Linked DNA regions of Homo sapiens: regions 1, 2 and 4 are each linked to region 3. Evidence: promoter capture Hi-C in human tissues and cell types (Jung and others, 2019). All regions are on one chromosome and are shown on one strand. Each heading gives the region's core, a stretch centred on a gene start or on the middle of the fragment in contact. The rest is flanking DNA. Distances are from core to core; before and after follow the strand shown. Region 1 has its middle 21 kb from the start of LINC01070. Region 2 has its middle 15 kb from the start of LINC00354. Region 3 holds the start of SOX1 (SRY-box transcription factor 1). Region 4 has its middle 13 kb from the start of LINC00354.

Region 1 (5,162 bases), core at 870-3,369, 150 kb after region 3:
GGGAGATGGAGAGGGCTGAGCAGGAAGCACTGAGCTGTGCTCCTCTCCTGCCTTCTCTGTACCTTGCTGGGTGTCTGACTGTGGAGTCTCAAGGCACCCTAGCTCTTCTCTGGTGGGGCTGATTTTTCCATCCCCGTTTTGTGAATAGGGAAACACCAGTGACCAGTGTCAGGTGGGCCTTGTTCCTTTCAGGAGCGGGAGAAAAAGAGCTCCTTACCCATGTGTCATTTCTCCTATTGCAATGTTCAAAGAAAAAAAGGCATGTTCTCATCTCCACCGCCACCAGAACCCATTAACAGGTCCGTTCTGGTTGATTTCTGGAGTCTGGCTTCCAATGCCATTGTTTTTCACTCTTATTTCAAGTACATGCAGTTTTTGAGAGGCGGGGCTGATGAAGTCAACATTCAAATCTGTACAAATCTCCCAGTTTCCAGGTTATCTGCAGAGAAAAACCGAGTGGCACGCCAGCGGGATCCTTGGAATGGCAGCGGATCCCCTGCACGGGTACATCCACTGCTTGCTGTCAGGAGCCGAGGTCCGGGTGCTCCAGGGCCTGCAGGCCCTTCGGAGCAGGAATCTGACTCCCTCCTGGGGTCTCAAGGACGCCTTGGCCGGGCGATGGGCCTCCCCCACGCATTGTGTCCAGGAGGTTCTGTTCAGAGCGTGTGCTTCGAAGCTCACGCTGAGGCTAAGGTGATGAATCCGCTTATTTCTAGGGCCCTGCTGGGGGAGAACGAGGCCCCTTCCCGGGTGTCAGGGAATGCAAGCCTTCACAGCTGACACCACAGTGCCTTCGAGATGGAATCAGCGTCCCAGTGTGGGTGCCCAGGGGATTGTGGGCCGGGGGATGAGGGAGTGGAGGACCCCAGGACCTGGAGGAACCGTTCTCAGCTGGGTCCTGAAGTCTCTGCAGAGTTGGTCAGGTGGAGGACAGGATTCCAGGTGGAAGAGGATGGTACAAGCCGAGGCAACGGGCTGAGAAAACACATGGCGTGAAAGGAGCAGGAGACATTTCTGGAAAGAGAAAATGCAAGCAGGGAAGTTCCTGCTGAACCCACGGCCTCGCTGGCCGCACTGAGAGCGTCTGGTCCACAGTGGCAGGAGAGACAAACGATTGTAGGAGAAAAATCTGGGTTTTTTTAATTGTGTTATTTTTTTACATTAAAATTACTGGGAGAGAAAAGTAATGGATATCCTTTAAAATATTGGGAAAAATACAGAAAAGTACATAAAGAAAGTTACTCATGCTTATGTCACTTTTGAGCTCCCTCAAGTCCCCAGGCATTAGACGGGGAAGAGGAGGGGCGAGGCCACAGAGCAGGGAGAGCATTGAAAATACCCACAATGAGGGTGCACGACCAACCATTGACCTATGGGCCCTTGTCAGAGCTTCGCCTCCTGAAGCTAATTGTTCATCCAAGTGATTCTGTCAAAATTATATGCTGTTAGCAAATAAAAATGATTCATAAACATGTATGAGCACCCCAAATCCTGCACTTTCTACTAAGAAACAAGTCCGGCCAATTCTCTCTCTACTTCTGACATGGTGAGAGGTGTCAGAAAGTGACGGGGTGAGTTTGACATTAGAAATGGAGGGCAAATAGGAGAAGAACTGACAAACTGGAGGTGCCCCTTCTTTCTCTGGTCATTGGCCCGTGCACGGAGCTTAGCCCTGAGAAAAGACTGATCCCCAGTGATTTTCCTTTCGTGTCTTCACTAACAACACGGAGACTATTCATGAGATTAGACTGCTGTCAGAGCAAACTGGCATGTTCAGTATCTGCGAATTCTCAGAGAATAGATACTAAGTGTAATGCATCATTTTCATTTCTCTGGAAAATAAAGATATTAGCAAAGAATGACCTGGTGCATGCAGCTGCAGTTTCTCCACTCCAGCAAGTGTGAGTGAGTGTGCTGCTCCCGACCTGCTCCAAGAGGGAAAGCTGAGCTGGAGACCCCGGCAGGTCATAGAGGGTTTCCTATCAGGGTGTCTTGCACACGTGTGTTTGCAGGTGTGCACACATGTGTACACACATGTGCTGATATGCGTGCAAGTGCGTGTTTGCATGTGTGCACATGTGGGTGCATGTGTGTGTTGGTATTCATGCACTTGTTTGTGTCTGAATGTGTGCATGTGTGTGCATGTGTGTTGATATGCATGCACATGTGTGTTTGTGTGTGTTTGCATGTGTGCACGTGTGGGTGCATGTGTGTTGGTATGCATGTGTTTGTGTCTGCACGTGTGCAAGTGTGTGTGCATGTGTGTGTTGCTATGCATGCATATATGTGTTTGTGTGTTTGCATGTGTGCACGTGTGGTGCAGGTGTGTTGCTATGCATGCACGTGCATGTTAGTGTGTGTTTGCACATATGCATGGGTATCTGGGGCTCCCTGACAATATGAGGAAAATTGATGAATTTTTCTGGAAAATACTAATTACCACGGTAACCACCGTGGTCCGCACACTGTGGAAAGCTGAGATGCCAGGACTTTTTTGTGACTGTCATAAATCTTGTCAGTCAGCGCTTCATCTGATTAGGGTGACATTCACACAGCCTCCACGAAGTGGTTAAAAATTGCTATTTCCAGTCACTTAGTTGACTATTTCTCAATAGTCAACGCCACAAGTCAAATTCACGTCTCCACGTTTGACCAAAACATGTAGAATTTGAACTTTGAGAATAAAAAATGAAATCATATGCAAAATATATATTTCAGGGGTGGGATAGAGCCATTTTAGGCATTGAAAACTGCCTGAATCTATAGAACAGCATATAAAACAACTTACTAAATAGAACATAAATAACAAAGAACAATAACCTATCATTTTGTAAAATCGCAGATCTTCTTCACCAGTTTCCTTCTCTTGGCAGCAGAACAACACAAAGTTCAGAGGCCCTCCTCTGCCAGTGGTGTGGGCAAACCCCTCAACCCATTCAGGGCAACCCCATAGCAGCACTGTCTTCTCCCACCAAAAGTGGATTCCTTTTCACCCTGCTGGGTCCCTGTTTCTCCGTTTAAAATTTACAGAACCCTCTGTTAATTGAACTAGTTGCCAAAGAGAAGCAAAGTGCTCGTTCTGGAGCAAACGCCTCATGGGACATGGATGTTGCCAGCCAGGCCCTGGCACCTCCATCATCTTCACAGACAGCGGAGCAGGAGAAAGTCCTTTCCCGAGAGGCACCAAGTTCACTTCATGTTCCCAAGGACGACTGCTCAGAGAGTGGCCACATGGAGCCAGAATAAGAAAATGTGGAAAGTCTTTTGTATGACTTGAAAGAGAAACTGTCACCCAAACTGGAAAAGTTAAAAATAAGAAGGATAAAGGATGATAGAAAGAAAAAAGAGAGAGGAGAGGAGAGGAAGGAAGGAAGGGAGGGAGGGAGAGAGGGAAAGAGAAGAAAGAAAGAAAGAGAGAGAGAGAGAAAGAAAAAGAAAGAAAGAAAGAAAGAAAGAAAGAAAGAAAGAAAGAAAGAAAGAAAGACAAAAAGAAAGAATTAGCTGCAACTTCTCTGCATCCTACTAAAGCGTGATTCAAGTAGGATCCAGACCCGACAGCCAATTACTTCTTTCATCTCTGAATATCTCTAAAACAATAAAAGGCACTGTGTTTGAGTAGCTAGTCAAATCCAGTCCCGAGGTCAGCGCTGTTCTAATTAAAGTGACCTCACCTGAGACAGGAACAGTGTCCGTCTTAAACAAAGCACAGCTGAAAGCAATCCCCAGGACAACTAAAAACATCATGAATTTGGTCTCTAGGTAAGGAAAAGAAAACTTGCTTAGAAGCAAGTCTTTCCCATCTCCTTTCGCCTCTCTTGTGTTTAGTGAGATTTTTGTTGAAAGTCACAAGAAATCCTATTGTCTTCCTCTTTCCTCTCTTTTCCCGCTACAGTTCCAGGAGGCAAGTTTCACCTGACTCAGAATCCATCCCTTTTATAATGGCATTAAAAGATGACTTCAGGGTGTATCATTCCTTGATGGATGGTTTTTTTGTTTTTGTTACGACGAAATATTGCTGAGTTTCCCCTAAATTTGACCGGGATTTGCAACTGGGAAACATATAACTACCAGCCATCGTTATTAGCATTCGTAATTATCACCAGTAATTGTTACCACAGTTTTCTAACAATTACCGCTTTGAGCAATAGAATCCGAGGACAGTGCCATTCATTTAGCAAAGCAGTGTGGAGTTTCCATTTAACCAGACTGTCCAAGCATGAGCAGAAATGAAAACCAGAAATGCTAAATCTATATTTAAATGCAGACAAAAATCCTGTGACAAAGTCGTTCTTTCCCAGCTCAAATCAAAATTTTAAACAGTTTACCTCCTTTATGTCTTCCCAAGAGTTTTATGCAACAAACTTTCAGTGTCATGACTAATAGCGGCTCTTGCCAAGGCTGACTCTTAAAGCCTCTCCTCCGCCTTGTGATCTGCAGCGCACGTCTTATTATGGGGTGCATTATGCAGACGCCAGCCCTGTGATGGGACAGGCAACCCCGCTGTGAGAATGCCTATCAGAGCTTCTTTTAAGGCCCTTTCTCAATTGTCAGCAAAGTATTTTTTAAGGTTAAAAGGTGTAAAATTATTCTGAAATGCTTTTCTGACCTGTCGCCTATCACTGCAAAGAGCTATAGTTCATTTTTTTTTCTAAAATTGTATTTTTTGAAATGCAGTAATATTATAAGAATAAGCTTCATATGAGGAAAATAGTCTCCTGAAATGTTCGTGGTATTTTTTTTTGCATGCCTTCTTCTCCAATGACTGCAATACTAATCATTGTTTTATGCTTAGAATTATAATTTTGATGCAATTTTTCTTATACCAAGCCACCATTTCTGTGGTGAAATTAATATAAATGACCATTACTTTTTGCATCTCTTTCTTTTTAAAAAACAATTCCTGTTACAGTGGTTGCTTCATATTCCATAATGTCAAAGTCAAATTCACCACTGTCATGAGATGTAATCTCATTATTGAGAGGCGTACAGGCCGACGAGCTGTCATTCTCAACGCCGCACCTGCACGTTGATTGAAACCACCCTGGAAGTCAGCGGGAAAACCAGCAGACGGTTTGGCCTTCCTGCCCTCATCTGTTTCGCAGCTCCCGAGACTTGCTTGGCCAGAGAAGTTGCAAGCGTGGCAGATAACGTAGGGTCAGCAA
Region 2 (5,471 bases), core at 1,551-4,050, 160 kb before region 3:
GCGTCCCCGCCCCCTTCCGCGTCCCCGCCCCCTTCTGCGTCCCCGCCCCCTTCCGCGTCCCCGCCCCCTCCACCCTCAGTGACTGTCACTTTCTCTCTCAAGCTGCCCTCTCACGCCTGTGTGCCAGTGAAGGCAGGGTCAGAGCTCTGCTCACAGCTCTGACACTTCAGTGGCTTCACGTGACACAAGTTTTATTTGTCCTTACTTCGCAGTGCTGTATGTTGGTTTTTGGGGTGGAAGACAGACCCTACTCCGTTCCGTGGTTCAGAGACTGTTGGCTGGAACTCAGCCTCATAGCTGCACTGATGGTGGCTTAGGCACGTGAAGTCACCGGTGGGCCAGGAAGATGGTGGATGCGTGTCATGAGCATCAAGCCAGCCTCTGACTCTCCTGAGACTTACGAAGAAAAATGCAATTGCTTCACAGTCCACATTCTAAAAACCTTAATTTTTTATTTGTATTATTTTTTGTTTGTTTGTTTTTGAGACAGAGTCTCAGTCTTGTCACCCAAGCTGGAGTATCAAGCCAGCCTCTGACTCTCCTGAGACTTACAAAGAAAAATGCAGTTGCTTCACAGTCCACATTCTAAAAACCTTTTTATTTTTTGTTTGTTTTTGAGACAGTCTCAGTCTTGTCACCCAAGCTGGAGTATCAAGCCAGCCCCTGACTCTCCTGAGACTTACGAAGAAAAATGCAATTGCTTCACCGTCCACATTCTAAAAACCTTTTATTTTATTTTTTATTTGTATTATTTTTTGTTTGTTTGTTTGTTTTTGAGACAGAGTCTCAGTCTTGTCACCCAAGCTGGAGTGCAGTGGTGTGATCTTGGCTCACTGCAACCACCACCTCCCAGGTTCAGGTGGTTCTCCTGCCTCAGCCTCCAGAGTAGCTGGGATTACAGGCACGTGCCGCCACACCTGGCTAATTTCTGTATTTTTAGTAGAGATGTGGTTTTGCTGTGTTGGCCAGGCTGGTCTCAAACTCCTGACCTCAGGTGAACCACCTGCCTTGGCCTCCCACAGCGTTGGGATTACAGACATGAGCCACCGTGCCAGGCCCATAGTCCACATTCTTATTTGGGATGGGAAGCAGTGGTTTAAATTTTAAAGATTCCAAATCTACCACCTCATAATCAGTTGGGAGCAGGCAGTGCCTGGCCGCTACGCACCTGGAGCACTTCCAGGCACCGACGCTGCTGCACACTTTATGATCTCTTTGTGGCCATGTTGAGCTGATTGAAATGGAAGATATTCCCTAAAATCAGAATCATAAAAATCTGCAATGAGATTTCCAGTTTTGATCCTGCTCCCAGGGCAACATTGTACTTAACTTTGAGACTTAGCTCTCATGTTACTTCCCTCTGAAGCCTCCCCAGCTCTTTTCTTGCTTTCCTCAAGCTCAGTGTCTGGGTTCCCACATTTTCCTAATGACCTGCGAATCCCCATGGATCCCAGATCTGGGCTGTGCTGTCCCTGATGTTTCTTCTCCCACAATGCGCGCCCTTGGGACCGTGGCTGCCCTGTCTGCACTTGGAGCAAGCACCGTGTACACTGTTGGTGCTCAGTCAATGCCTATGAAATGGACCCAGGTCACGGCCTCCAATACAGCTACACAGAATGGGACTGGAGACCTGAAATGCTGCCTGTGCCTCGTGGCTTCTGTCAGAGGGGTCATTACCAAGGAAATGGAGAGGGGCTCGGTTCTTGACCCTAGTTCGCATATTTCTCAATTTTTGAGAAAACAGTTCTTCAAATTCTGCCTGTGTCTCTTTTCCTTTTTTCTTTTTCATGTTTAATGTTTGTGGGTACATGAGATATTTTGATACAGGCATGTAACATGTAATAATCATGTCTCTTTTCTAATGGACAAATGAGCTTCTGTTCTGTTGGGGCTGTTATTAGGGAGCATAATTCTTCCCTGAAAGGACAGGGCTAATGTCAGGCACTGAGGAACGGGCAGAGGCTCCAGGGACAGAAAGCGTGGAGTGGGGCGGAAGCCTCAGCCCAGGGAAAGAGAGCCCCTTCCTCTGCCTGGCTGTGCTCTTGGAAGCTTAACCCCAAGGCTACAGGGACCCTGGTGGTGCAGAAGGAGAGGCTTCTACTCCAGGACAGGGGCCTACCCAGTGGAAGGGAGCTGGAGAGGCTTCTACTCCAGGACAGGGGCCTACCCAGTGGAAGGGGGGCTGGCACCAGGTGCCTCCAGGAAGGTCACATCTGAGGAGTCGGAGCTGGTGTCTCTTCTCTGAAGTTCTCTCACCCTGAGCCTGCAGGGAAGTCATGTGAACACAACAGCCTGACCTCCTGGGAGCTCTGGGAAGTCCAGGTGTCTGAACCTTGCTTGATCTGGAGATATAAGAGGGAGAGGCTCCTGGGGCCCAGGGGTGTTGATGGCTTGATGGGTGAGAAGCGCAAGTGGGGAGAGTTTGAGAAGTGAAGACGCTCCCTGCATGGTAGGACAGTGGACGAAGCTCGCGTATTCAACCTGGCCGCTGTCTTCATGGAGCAAAGGGACTGATTCCTTTTTAAGCATAAGTAGATGTCCAAGATGGCATCTGGCAACAGATTCTTTCTTCTCTGTGCACTAAGAGTGGAGATTTCTTTGATCTCAAAAAGAGGAATTAGAAAGTAGCAAACATTCATACCTTCTCTTGGCAAGATATAAAATGTTGCAGACATACACCATAAGATGTAAAATACATTCTGTAAAATATAAAATGTGTGCATTACTTACTTTTGTACATGGGCATTACACATATACACACACATTCCCTCCAAGGAGTGAATGAATAGCGTCTTCTGATTCCTCTGGAGCAGCATAGAATGTGGTTTGGAAAATGCTGTCTTGACCCAGTTTGGAGGTCCTGGCTAGAGGTGGCCAGGTCCCCTTCTTCAGCCCACATCCTGACCGCCTGCTTATTGGGTCACCCTCCGGGCCACTATCTGTCTGAGCTGATCACACTGGGGCAGGTGCCAGACAGCTAGAGACAGCCCCAGTGCCACAGGGCCTGCCAGAATTATTCAAACCAGTCAATCCTAAGCCTGCCTTCCCTGCCCCGGAAACGGCCATAAAGGCTGGTAGATAGAGGCTCCTGCCATAGCCCGTCTCCCTCCCGGCCGACCCGGCCTTCCCTGCGTGCCCTACAGGGTGCTGCTTGCCTCCTTCTCCTGGAAGCAGTGACTGTAACAAACTCTTCTCAATGGCAGTCGTCTCCCGATCTGCTGGCCTCTTCCACTTAAATCATAATAAAATCTGGCCAGGCACAGTGACTCATGCCTGTAATCGTGGCGTGGGAGGCAGAGGTGGGTGGATCACCTGAGGTCAGGAGTTTGAGACCAGCCTGACCAATATGGTGAAACCCCATCTCTACTAAAAATACAAAAATTAGCCAGGCGTGGTGACAGGTACCTGTAATCCCAGCTACTCAGGAAGCTGAGGCAGGAGAATCACTTGAACCTGGGGAGGCAGAGGTTGGAGTGAGCGGAAATTGTACCACCGCACTCCAGCCTGGGCAGCAGAGCTCAACTCTATCTCAAAATAATAATAATAACAAAAACTATTAAAACACAGTGGTTAATCAGCCTGTCTTTTTCCAGATGAAGGATCAAGAAGTCCACTGGCTTCCAGGCCAAGGCTGTGCTGGCATCCCTGACACTGTCCACCCCTGCTCCTCTCCAACCACCGGAGGCGAGACAAGGCGGGTGGCCACATCTAGACCCGCAGCAGCCGGGGCAGGGGGCCGTTATCTCGCTCCTAATGGGAAAAGGCTCTGGGTGAACCCCTGGCACAGCAGCAGCCAGGCGGTGGCTGTAATGGCCAGGAGAGAGTCTGGACACTCTAATTTGTGTTCTATGCTTGCCTGTGGTTGACCTCACTTGATTTCTAACTGCAGCCTCTAGGTTTTGCATCCACATTTTATCTTCTACCTGCATAGGGTTCTGTTTCCATCTGATTCAGAATAAGACTCTCTGTCACCTGAGATCGGATCTCAGTCCACTGGATTTGAGGGTGAGACCCTGGTACACCTTTTCCTTCAGCCAATAAGGTGATGCCCCCCCCCCCCCGAAGGTCTCTCTAGCATTGTGGGCCCTGGGCACAGAGGGGCCCAGGGGTGAGTAGGGGCCGCACGTCCTAGGATAACGAGTGGACAGGGTGGGGTTGGTGAAGGGAAGTCGTATCCCGCCGTGAGTGGTGCTGGCGGTGCTAGGAGGTGCTGGGCAGGTGCCGTGCTGGCCTGGGGGAATGTCACTCAGGCCACAAGGTTCTTAGGGTTCCAGATCCTGGATGAACGGACTCCCTGTCCCTGTGGAGCTCATGGCTGTGACTCGGTGGGCATGGAGCCTTCTCTTCCTTATGCCTTGGCCTCCAGATACTTACCCCACGTCTTGCCTTTCATTCTTTCTCTAGTCCTTTTGGCAAATGGGAAAGTGGGGAATTCCTGCTTTTCTCACAAACCTCCAGCTCCTGGCCTCTGGGTGGATGTGTGCTGAGGTAGCCCTGTTTATGCCCCTTACTGCTCCTCAGTATCTGGGCTTCAATACTGCCCCTCACCAAAAGGGTGATGGGACCCCCCATTGAAATTACCATCAAAATGGGGTGGGAATCTCAGCCAATGGATCCCCAGAGACTGGCTCCATCCACCCCAGACCGAGGGCTCCTTCCTCAGGTCCAGGTACCCAGAACGCAGGGGTCCCTGCGTCGTCTACCTGACGATGGGACCCATAGTACCTTCGGGAGGCTGGGAGCTGGCCCAGGTGCTCCTTTACCTCCACAGAGGCCATGAGCCCCACAGCCTCCATTGTCTCCCAAGGACATGGGTGTACCCACAGCCATTGCTCCTGCCTTGGAGAAGAGCCATCTGTGAGCCAGCCAGCCAGACGCCTGCAGGCCAGCATCTCACGGAGAGCAGGACACCAAGATAAATGGTGCACCTGCTAAGTGAACCTGATGAACGTCGGTGGCCAAAACCATCAGGAGGAGGAAGAGCCAGACCTAGGACCACACACCAGAGAGGGCAACATGAGAAAGAGCTCCCGACCCCATCAGCGAGGAGCCGGCCCGGCCAGGGGGACCTCACGCCGGTTCTGATGTGCACAGTCAACCTCTAGGAGCTCTTGACACTGCTGAGGGGCCACCCAGGGAGGGAGAGCTGGTGGGGGGACCCACAGCCCCCATCCCCACCTTCTTCAATGCTGTGGCTGCTCCTGCTCCTGCAGGGGCCCAGGCAGCCTCACACTCCTCATTTTATAGAGGAAGAATGGAGGCTCCAACAACACAAGCCTGCTGTAGTTCCTGCAGGCTTCGTGGGCTCCGCACGTGTGTCTAGGGGCTGATCCTCCCAGAGTCACAATAACTCCATCCCTGTCACCTACAAGACTGGCACGTGGTGTTTATTTCATTCTCCTTGTTGAACTGATATGGTGGCTGCAGCCACTCACCTCCTCAATATCTGCAATGCTCCAGGTTTAAATTTC
Region 3 (5,077 bases), core at 1,453-3,952:
CACCTGCAGCTTTGGTTTAATACTTATGCAGGTGGCCACACATAGTGCGTGCAGCCGCTTGGGCCTAGGGAACATCTCGTCACTGAAGAGGGCTTATGGAGAGCACCCTGAACGTTGAGCACTAGTGTGAGCTCACAGGATGCTAAACCATTTTCCTCTTATTTAGATGCTCTGAAAAACAAGGGTAACGTCGTATTTGGAAACAATTTTCGGGACTATGGTAGAAAAAAAGTAGACCATTTCAAAGTCAGCTATCCAAGTTCCCCAAAGCATAAAGCATTCCTGCAAAGCACACTGGAGTGCAGGGTGTTTATAAAATAAATTGCTCCATTGATATGGAAAATAATGTGCCAAGCCTGATTCATACAAAGCATTTTCAGGGAGTCTTAAGCTATTTAGTTTAAACTCTAAATTGAAAAGCAGAGGAAAGAAATCTTTCAACTGCTAAGTGGATAATATAGTTTATAATTTGTAAACCATTTCCTTTATTTCAGTCTTGCTGACTTTCCATAACACACTGGATCTCACTGCACACCCATTGCCTCCTAAATTATCAAAGAAAAAAATGGGGCTATAGCATTCCCAAACAATATTATTGCTCCTTTTTTGTTCATTCACAATGTAACTGATATTTGTAGGTAGTGCATGTAACAAATCAAAAGATTTAACAAACTCGACTGGTGAAATAAGAAGGTAGTTGGAAGCCCAGTTTATAACCTAGATATTTAGTGAAAAAATAAATATAAAATGATGTTCCCTTTCTAATATAATTATATATTACTTGATGGATTTACTAGTAAATGCTGAATGGCCTGGAATGAAAGCAGTTTAATCTGCAGAGAGATCAATTTGCTGTTGCACTTCACACTGTAGCAACCCTGCAATAATAAAACAAACCCTACAGTAATAATCATAGCAATTGAGAGGAAATAAAGCATTATTCTTTTACCTTGGACAAGCAACAGGGTCAAGAAATTCACAACCTCAGAAGTTTTTTTAAGAGGAAAAAAAAGGTGTCACGTGTTCGCTGCCCAACAGACTCAAACATCCTATTACTCCTATTACCGTTATCATCATCTTTACTGAATATTCCTACTACAAGACAGGCAGACATGTGACATGCGGTGAAGGTTCTACTTTACCCACCACCAATCTCCACAAGCACTCTCATCTCAGGGTGCCTCGGGGAGGGCAGAGGAGGAATACTTGGGCTCAAAAGTCGTCTTTGGACCACTTTCAGATCAGTCTGGTGGAAACGGTAGTGTGAGCGCTATGCTACTTGAGACTGCGTTTGAAAATCTCTTTCACGTTCCCAAATCAAAGCCACTTTGAGGTTTAAGAATGATAACCACAGGTGAATGCCTTACTCTTTCCACGAGCCAGGCCTTTCCTTTGCATGACGCAGACCGGCGGCTGAGACCCGTCCTGAGGCCCCGCCTTTCATTCGGTTTATGTGGCCCCGCGCAGTTCACGCAGTTTTCTCCGTTCTTAGGCAACCAGCTCGTGGGAAATTCACTCCAGAAAAGCGTGCGCCATATCATTATTTTGCGATTCAACAAACTTTTTCAACTGTTGTTCAGGAACTAGATTCCAGATAGATCTTGTTGTGTTCGGCCTTCCTAGAAATTCCTTTTCCAGAGGAAGAAGATCCGGGTTGGGAAGAGTGCGTGACTATGGCCCCGGGCTCATTGAAAGACTCCTCCCCACAAAAGTTTAGGGCTGATACTAAACGAAGCTATGGAGCCATGCCCACACAAATACTCCCCCTTTACCCGAATTGTGGGGCCTGGACTGTGAAGGCCTTCGCTGCAAGAGCGGGCACTGGCGAACTTCAGTGCACGCCGCGGCCGAGAACGGATGCAGGGCGGGGGATGGCTGAGCCGCCTGATCCTTGCAGAGAACCTGCAGGGGCCCTCGGAGGGTATCCCCTGCGTCCAAGGGAGCGCCCCTCCTTTTCAGCACTCGGGGGAACTGAGGGCGACGTGCCAGCCCCGCACTCAACTTTCCCCTTCCCTGCAGGCACAGAGTTGGCCGGCGGGGGCAGAGGAGGAGCTGGGTCTCCACTGCGCCCGTTTAAACCTGGCCAGGGGCTGCGTTTCCTCCCCCCACCCCACGACGATCCTTTCTTAGTCTTCGCTTTTCAACCCAATCGTTAATCATTCGGAACGCGCGGGCGGGGAGCGGCGAGGAGGGCGAGCTCGGGGTTCGCCGCCGCCGCCGCCGCCGCGCGCGCGCGCTCAGGAAGCGGTGTGGCTGTCACCCCCTCCCGGGCCTCCTCCCCCCTCCTTCCTGCTTTGCTCCCCCTCCTTCCTCCCCTCCTCCCCGCTCCGCCGCCCGCGCCCAGTGTATCTACTCCCTCCCCACGTCACTCGCCAGCGCGCCATGCAAATCACCGCCGCCGCCGGCTCCCATTGGCCGCGGCGCGCTCATTTAATGGCAGCCCGGGCCCGGCGTATGGCTGCTGGGCCCCGCGCGCCGCCGGCCCCGCGTGCGCCTCCGCTCCGAGCGCACGGCCCCGGGCAGGCAGCGGGCAGCCCATCCCGGGCTCGGCGGCCCCGGCTCTCCGGCCCTCTCCGCGAGCCCGCGCTCCTCCCGCTGTCCCCGGGCCCCTCCCTGGCTGCACCGTAATCGCCCCCTGCAGGCCCCCCTGCGCCTCCCCCCCCCCGCCACTGGCGCCTGGCTTCCCCCGGGCACCTGGGACCAGCACATGCCCAGCGCACGCGGCGCGCCGCCCTGCTAGAAGTTGCAGCCTCCGAGTTGGAGGCCGCTGAGGACCGAGCGCAGGAGGAAGGAGACAGCGCGCAGCGGCGGCCGGCGAGGAGACAGCACACCCCGGGCCGGGCCCAGCGCACCGCTCCCGGCCCCAAAAGCGGAGCTGCAACTTGGCCACGACTGCACCTGTTTGCACCGCTCCGCCGAGGGCGCCTGGGCTGCGGTGGCGGCGAAGACGGCGACCCCGACCGTCGGCCTCTTTGGCAAGTGGTTTGTGCATCAGGAGAAACTTTCCACCTGCGAGCCGAACCGGCGCCGAGTGCGTGTGTTTCTGCCTTTTTTTGTTGTCGTTGCCTCCACCCCTCCCCATTCTTCTCTCCGCTAGGACCCCCCCGCCCCCGTCTCACTCCGTCTGAATTCCTCTCCGTCTCCCTCCCACCCCGGCCGTCTATGCTCCAGGCCCTCTCCTCGCGGTGCCGGTGAACCCGCCAGCCGCCCCGATGTACAGCATGATGATGGAGACCGACCTGCACTCGCCCGGCGGCGCCCAGGCCCCCACGAACCTCTCGGGCCCCGCCGGGGCGGGCGGCGGCGGGGGCGGAGGCGGGGGCGGCGGCGGCGGCGGGGGCGCCAAGGCCAACCAGGACCGGGTCAAACGGCCCATGAACGCCTTCATGGTGTGGTCCCGCGGGCAGCGGCGCAAGATGGCCCAGGAGAACCCCAAGATGCACAACTCGGAGATCAGCAAGCGCCTGGGGGCCGAGTGGAAGGTCATGTCCGAGGCCGAGAAGCGGCCGTTCATCGACGAGGCCAAGCGGCTGCGCGCGCTGCACATGAAGGAGCACCCGGATTACAAGTACCGGCCGCGCCGCAAGACCAAGACGCTGCTCAAGAAGGACAAGTACTCGCTGGCCGGCGGGCTCCTGGCGGCCGGCGCGGGTGGCGGCGGCGCGGCTGTGGCCATGGGCGTGGGCGTGGGCGTGGGCGCGGCGGCCGTGGGCCAGCGCCTGGAGAGCCCAGGCGGCGCGGCGGGCGGCGGCTACGCGCACGTCAACGGCTGGGCCAACGGCGCCTACCCCGGCTCGGTGGCGGCGGCGGCGGCGGCCGCGGCCATGATGCAGGAGGCGCAGCTGGCCTACGGGCAGCACCCGGGCGCGGGCGGCGCGCACCCGCACGCGCACCCCGCGCACCCGCACCCGCACCACCCGCACGCGCACCCGCACAACCCGCAGCCCATGCACCGCTACGACATGGGCGCGCTGCAGTACAGCCCCATCTCCAACTCGCAGGGCTACATGAGCGCGTCGCCCTCGGGCTACGGCGGCCTCCCCTACGGCGCCGCGGCCGCCGCCGCCGCCGCTGCGGGCGGCGCGCACCAGAACTCGGCCGTGGCGGCGGCGGCGGCGGCGGCGGCCGCGTCGTCGGGCGCCCTGGGCGCGCTGGGCTCTCTGGTGAAGTCGGAGCCCAGCGGCAGCCCGCCCGCCCCAGCGCACTCGCGGGCGCCGTGCCCCGGGGACCTGCGCGAGATGATCAGCATGTACTTGCCCGCCGGCGAGGGGGGCGACCCGGCGGCGGCAGCAGCGGCCGCGGCGCAGAGCCGGCTGCACTCGCTGCCGCAGCACTACCAGGGCGCGGGCGCGGGCGTGAACGGCACGGTGCCCCTGACGCACATCTAGCGCCTTCGGGACGCCGGGGACTCTGCGGCGGCGACCCACGAGCTCGCGGCCCGCGCCCGGCTCCCGCCCCGCCCCGGCGCGGCGTGGCTTTTGTACAGACGTTCCCACATTCTTGTCAAAAGGAAAATACTGGAGACGAACGCCGGGTGACGCGTGTCCCCCACTCACCTTCCCCGGAGACCCTGGCGACCGCCGGGCGCTGACACCAGACTTGGGTTTTAGACTGAACTTCGGTGTTTTCTTGAGACTTTTTGTACAGTATTTATCACCTACGGAGGAAGCGGAAAGCGTTTTCTTTGCTCGAGGGGACAAAAAAGTCAAAACGAGGCGAGAGGCGAAGCCCACTTTTGTATACCGGCCGGCGCGCTCACTTTCCTCCGCGTTGCTTCCGGACGGCGCCGACCGCCGGAGCCCAAGTGACGCGGAGCTCGTCGCATTTGTTATAAATGTAGTAAGGCAGGTCCAAGCACTTACAAGTTTTTTGTAGTTGTTACCGCTCTTTTGGGTTGGTTTGTTAATTTATACAAAGAGATTACCACCACCACCCCCTCCTTCAGACGGCGGAGTTATATTCTGGGTTTTGTAAAACTTTATGTATCTGAGCATTTCCATTTTTTTTTTTGGGTTTTGTATTATTTCTTGTAAATGCATTGTGAAAAATTTTATTTTCGGCGTTGCAATGCGGGGAG
Region 4 (5,386 bases), core at 488-2,987, 190 kb before region 3:
GAACCCCCCAACTTGAGTTGCTGCAACTTAGCTAGCAAGCCGACTCACTGTAGTCTCCCATCTGGAGAATGTCGCTCCTGCCTGCCTGTCGGTTGGACGATTAGAGGCTGAGTGGCCCTTCCAACGTGGAGAAGCGCGTTTGATGTACATTTTCTTCATGTCCATCAGCTCCCAGGTATGAACTTGCTGAAGGCTGCCCCAGGAACAGGACGGATACAGAATCAGAATCTTGGTTTTATAGAAAATACAGTTAATGATCCTCCGCGTAGAAATTGGTCTGTAAGAATATTATAATATATATTACGTGTGCACCAATCATTCTTCTCAGAACAACAGTGAATGTATTAGTCTTTTATTTACTGGGTTGTTTTTATTATTTGTCAACTATTTAGTTCAGCAATTAGAATATAAGCTTCAAGGCAAGAATGTGTATTCATAATTATAATTAGGTTTCGGAAAAATTAAAACCAAGTGAAAATAAATGGCTCCCTCTCTAGAAGAAACTTGCTGCTTTGTTGTCAAGTTAGCACTGAGGCATTAAGAATTGTAGATGGCTTACAACCCACTCTTATTTATGTAGTAGGGAATGCAGGAGCAAAGAATACGAGCAGCTCCTCTGCACATCTGTTCATATGAGGTGACTTGAATGTTCGTTTTGTGTTTGGTGCCTCAAGTCCAAGCATATTTAAAGCCAATTGGTAAGGACCTAAAGTTGGTGCATTGAAATTTGTGACTTTCTTTGGTATTATCCTGTTGACTGATGGTGCTGGTCTTACAGATTCTCTGGGGTGCAGTCAGGAGCAGGCAAACTGGCAATTTTAACACATTATAAGATGGTCTGGAAGCCCCAGAGAAAGCAATCCCCTGAGACGCTGGCAATTTTCTTTTTTTTCTTTTTTATTTTTTTATTTTCATTTTATTTTATTTTTTCCTTTTTTTATTATATTTTAAGTTCTAGGGTACACGTGCACAACTTGCAGGTTTGTTACATCTGTATACATGTGCCATGTTGGTGTGCTGCACCCATTAACTCATCATTTACATTAGGTATTTCTCCTAATGCTATCCCTCCCCGCTACCCCCACCCCATGACAGACCCCAGTGTGTGATGTTCCCCTTCCTGTGTCCAAGTGTTCTCAATGTTCAATTCACACCTATGAGTGAAAACATGTGGTGTTTGGTTTTCTGTCCTTGTGATAGTTTGCTGAGAATGATGGTTTCCAGCTTCATCCATGTCCCTACAAAGGACATGAACTCATCCTTTTTTATGGCTGCATAGTATTCCATGGTATATATGTGCCACATTTTCTTAATTCAGTCTATCATTGATGGGCATTTGGGTTGGTTCCAAGTCTTTGCAGTGTGGTGATTCCTCAAGGATCTAGAACTAGAAATACCATTTGACCCAGCCATCCCATTACGGGGTATATACCCCAAGGATTATAAATCATGCTGCTATAAAGACACATGAACATGTATGTTTATTGCGACACTGGCAGTTTTCTGCCTCTTGGAAAGAATTAAAGTCAACCTGAAGCAGGCCTCTCTGGTTCAGCAAGCATGGAACACAGCAGCTCCCTGGAAGCCCCCATAGAGCTTGTATGGCGACCGTAATATAATGGTGCTTGCAGGGGGCGAGGGATTCTTTTTGCCCCTCTGTGCTGAGGAAACCATTTCACTTTCTTGCCTGAATAAAAATGTTGCTGTTGTTTAATATAAGTAGCAGGAGGAGAACCCAGCACAGCAGGTACATGGCATCCAAAGACTCTCTGGAGAGACCTGGAGTTTTGTTTGGTAATGTTTTCTCTTTTAGGAGTGTCTCAGAGGTAACTCTGTGCTTACCTGATGACCCGTGGTCTGTCTGCCATAGGGAAAGCTCACGTCCACTCTGTATAAGCAAATAGCCCCTCCAGAGGGCCACCTGGAAACAGTGCTTGCTGCAGAAACCCTGCCGGGGGACTCAGGAGACACGGGGTTTAATTCTGCATAACCTTGGCGACTGCATAACCCTGGGCCAGTTGCTTGACTTCTCCAGGCCTTGGTTCCTTTATTTTCAAAACAAGTTTGGACTTGATCTTTTCTAGCTCTCAAGTTTTGCAATTCTATGTTTTATTGTTATAAAAATGTATTCTAAGCTCAATGTTTTTCTGACAGAAATTCGGGCTCATTTTGCTCAATCACTCTCTAGAACCAAAATCCAAAAATTAGAGCAGCCTGTGTGTGCATGTCCTCTTCCCACCAGAGCCCCTGAGCTCTGTGCTTCTGCTACCCAGGGCTGTTCCCGCAGTCAGCTGGAGCAGGGCCCCTGAGCTCTGTGCACCTGCCACCCAGGTCTGCTCCCACAGGCAGATTGAGCAGGACCCCTGAGCTCCCTGTGCCTGCCTGTTACCCAGGACTGCTCCCACGGGCAGATGGAGCAGAGCCCCTGAGCTCCGTGTACCTGCCACCCAGGACTGCTCCTGTAGGCAGATGGAGCGGGGCCCCTGAGCTCTGTGGGCTTGTTACCCAGGGCTGCTCCCGCAGGCAGATGGAGGAGGGGACATCCCACATCCCACATACTTTGGGATGTGCTCTTGTGCATATGGTCGCTTAGAAAACAAGGCATTCATCACGATTAAGTTGATCTCATTACCAAGCAATAAATTGGAAATTGCAATAAAATGAGGTTGATTTCTGACTGGCAAATTTTGGTTTCAGGGCGGAAAGGAAATAATCATATTTAAAGCTGCAACAGCTGTTGCATCGTATTATATTTTAAACCCTTTTAGAGGAATTAGTTAATTAATTTTAACATTGTTAAACTCTCTTTAATAGTGTTCCAAAATACCTAGCAGTGATTAATCATGATCGGAATTTTTATCAGTCATGATCTAATACGTTTTCCCAAAAAGAAGATTTCATTGCACATTAAAATTACTTAGTTCATATTCTTTAATTGTAGATCTTAATCCTGTTTGAAAATATAATCTTTATCCATTCAGTGTCGTGCAAAGTTAGTGCTTCTCCTCAAAAAAACATTTTCAAACTTTGCTTGGGTTCTTTTCTTCCCCTTTGCTAAGCCATATCATTTAATTTCATGTGGCTTTAATGAGTAATTGTTTTCAACAGTTTCTAAGAGTTTCAGTCAGCAATATTTCATTCCAGAATAAAAGGTAATGATCCGTAAATTCCTAATGCCATAATTTTATAGCCAGTAAATTAGTCTTTAATGGGTTCAATAAGTTCTGTGATGTATGTCATTAATTGTTAATGGTGTTTTAACTAGATAATTGTTAGGAAGGGCTGTTTATCATCACCACCGGTGAATGACTGATCCCTAGTTTTGGTTCCACTTCATATCATGGAGCTTATTTTATCTGGCTTTGTGTGCTGAGAGCTGATGAGGTGCGCGAAACGCACAGGCCAAGCATCCCCTTCCCACATTAGCATATCCTGCACTGAGACACATAACTCTACAGCCTTCCATGCCAATTTACTTTATCTTCTGTATCAGTTAGCTGTTGGTCCTGTTATGCTGGGTAACAACCCACACCAAAACGCAGTGGCTAAAATAACCATTGTTCATGCTCACTGTGATGGTTGGTTTCACGTGTCACATTGGTGAGACTGTGGTATCCAGTTATTCAGTCAAATAAGAATCTCGTGTGACCGTGAAGATACTTTGTAGATGTTAACATCATGATCCAAATATGAATCATGTTTGAAATCTCCTTTCTTGTAGAAGATTGTAGATCTCCCTACAATCAGGAGACTCTTGAGTCAAGCAGACGACTCTCCCTAATGTGGGTGGGCCTCATCCAATCAGCTGACATTCTTAAGAGCAAAGACCGAGGCTTCCCAGAGAAGGAGGACTGCAGTGTTAGCTCCTGCCTGTGTTTCTAGCCTGCAGCCTACCCCTCGATCCTGGACTTGCCAGCCCCCCTCGCACATGCGCAGGTTCTGTGGAGACGGGCTGGTCTCCTGTGGGCTCGGCTGGGGCAGGCTCTCCACTGCAGGTTGGGTCCACCTCTGTGCTTGCACCTCTCCTCCTCCTTGAGCAAGAAGGCTTCCAAGACATGCTCTTCCTGTGAGCAGCAGCAAAGAAGCAGGAGGGCTAGCCTCGTCTTTTTTTTTTTTTTTTTTTTTTTGAGACGGAGTCTTGCTCTTGTCACCCAGGCTAGAGTGCAATGGCATGATCTCTGCTCACTGCAGCCTCCACTCCACCTCCTGGGTTCAAGCTATTCTCCTGCCTCAGCCTCCCAAGTAGCTGGGATTATAGGTGCACGCCAACACACCCGGCTAATTTTTGTATTTTTAGTAGAGATGGGGTTTCACCATGTTGGCCAGGCTGGTCTTGAACTCCTAACCTCAGGTGATCTGTCCGCCTCAGCCTCCCAGAGTGCTGGGGTTACAGGCATGAGCCACCGTGCCCGGCCTGTGGCTTCATCCTTTGAGCATATTCCTCGCTGGTTTCAAGTTGGCCAACATCTCATTGGCCAATGCAGATCACAGGATGGAGCCCACAGTATGGGGCAGAGAAGTTCCCTCCACTCGTGTGGGAAAAACTATAAAGTCACTCAGCAAAGACAGGAGACAAAGGAAGGGTGGAGGAGCGTGGCAACAATTCCCTCTATCTCAGCTTCTCAGCCAAGTGAGGCCAGAGACCCAGGGACCCCAACAGACACATCTCCCAGTTGCTTCTTACATATCCTGGACCAGAGAGAATTAGTTCCAGCAAGTCAAAGACACACTCAAAGCTCCCGCAGAGGTATGGTTTTCTCTAAAAACCCCACCAAGGCGCCACTGGAGAGGAGCACAGAATTCTCATTTGACAGCCTTGATGTCCATCATGCTCACTGCCTGCTTTCGTGTGTCATGTTGGCAAGGCTGTAGTATCCAGTTATTTAGTCAAAAAGAATCTCATGTGACCATGAAGATATTTTGTAGATGTTTTTCCATTCAGGCAACCCTACGTGTGTCGACAAACAGGGGGTATACTTTTAGAGTTTTTGCCATTGTAAAAACGAGACAATGAGCACACATTCCCTCTCCTCTCTGCATTTATGACTATTTCAGGTAGATAGTGTTGGATGCTGCTGCCATGATAACTCAACAATTACATCTGCATGGGGACATCAGGTGGAGAAAGGGGGCACAAAGAAGATGTGGCAGGCCCCTTTGGAGGGAAGGGCATGGCTTTGCCAGTGAAGATGGATGAGCTTTGAAACAGGAATTCCTGGCCAAGGGAAAAACATGAGCAAATTCAGAGACAATGATAATTGGTGATAAATGATAATGACTTCAGCTTAACCAAGCCTAACTCAGCTGATGCACATTCCAAATATTAACGCTTGGGCATGCATGCCTTTGGTGATCTATGTAATCTAGAAAAAATTACTCTCAAAAA

What was found. Contacts are between HindIII fragments. The study calls those that stand out against the background at their distance.
Region 1: a fragment that was not itself captured here is called in contact with the fragment with the promoter of SOX1 in region 3 in 3 of the 25 tissues and cell types used here (H1 embryonic stem cells, mesendoderm cells and neural progenitor cells).
Region 2: a contact is called between a fragment that was not itself captured here and the fragment with the promoter of SOX1 in region 3, in 2 of the 25 tissues and cell types used here (dorsolateral prefrontal cortex and mesendoderm cells).
Region 4: a contact is called between a fragment that was not itself captured here and the fragment with the promoter of SOX1 in region 3, in 8 of the 25 tissues and cell types used here (H1 embryonic stem cells, dorsolateral prefrontal cortex, heart left ventricle and 5 more).

Annotation. Positions count from the first base shown.
Region 1 is chr13:112,215,468-112,220,629 of GRCh38, forward strand. No RefSeq gene overlaps it. Among named protein-coding and RNA genes, the nearest start is that of LINC01070, 21 kb to the left of the region's middle. The HindIII fragment of the contact is 8,103 bases long and covers 1-5,162 here.
Region 2 is chr13:111,905,467-111,910,937 of GRCh38, forward strand. No RefSeq gene overlaps it. Among named protein-coding and RNA genes, the nearest start is that of LINC00354, 15 kb to the left of the region's middle. The HindIII fragment of the contact is 3,829 bases long and covers 887-4,715 here.
Region 3 is chr13:112,064,447-112,069,523 of GRCh38, forward strand. SOX1 (SRY-box transcription factor 1) reads left to right here and starts at 2,703. Exons shown (of 1, transcript NM_005986.3): 1 at 2,703-5,077. The coding sequence starts at 3,213. The coding sequence ends at 4,388. All of the region lies in intron 1 of SOX1-OT (SOX1 overlapping transcript), which reads left to right. The HindIII fragment of the contact is 28,986 bases long and covers 1-5,077 here.
Region 4 is chr13:111,877,986-111,883,371 of GRCh38, forward strand. No RefSeq gene overlaps it. Among named protein-coding and RNA genes, the nearest start is that of LINC00354, 13 kb to the right of the region's middle. The HindIII fragment of the contact is 8,074 bases long and covers 1-5,386 here.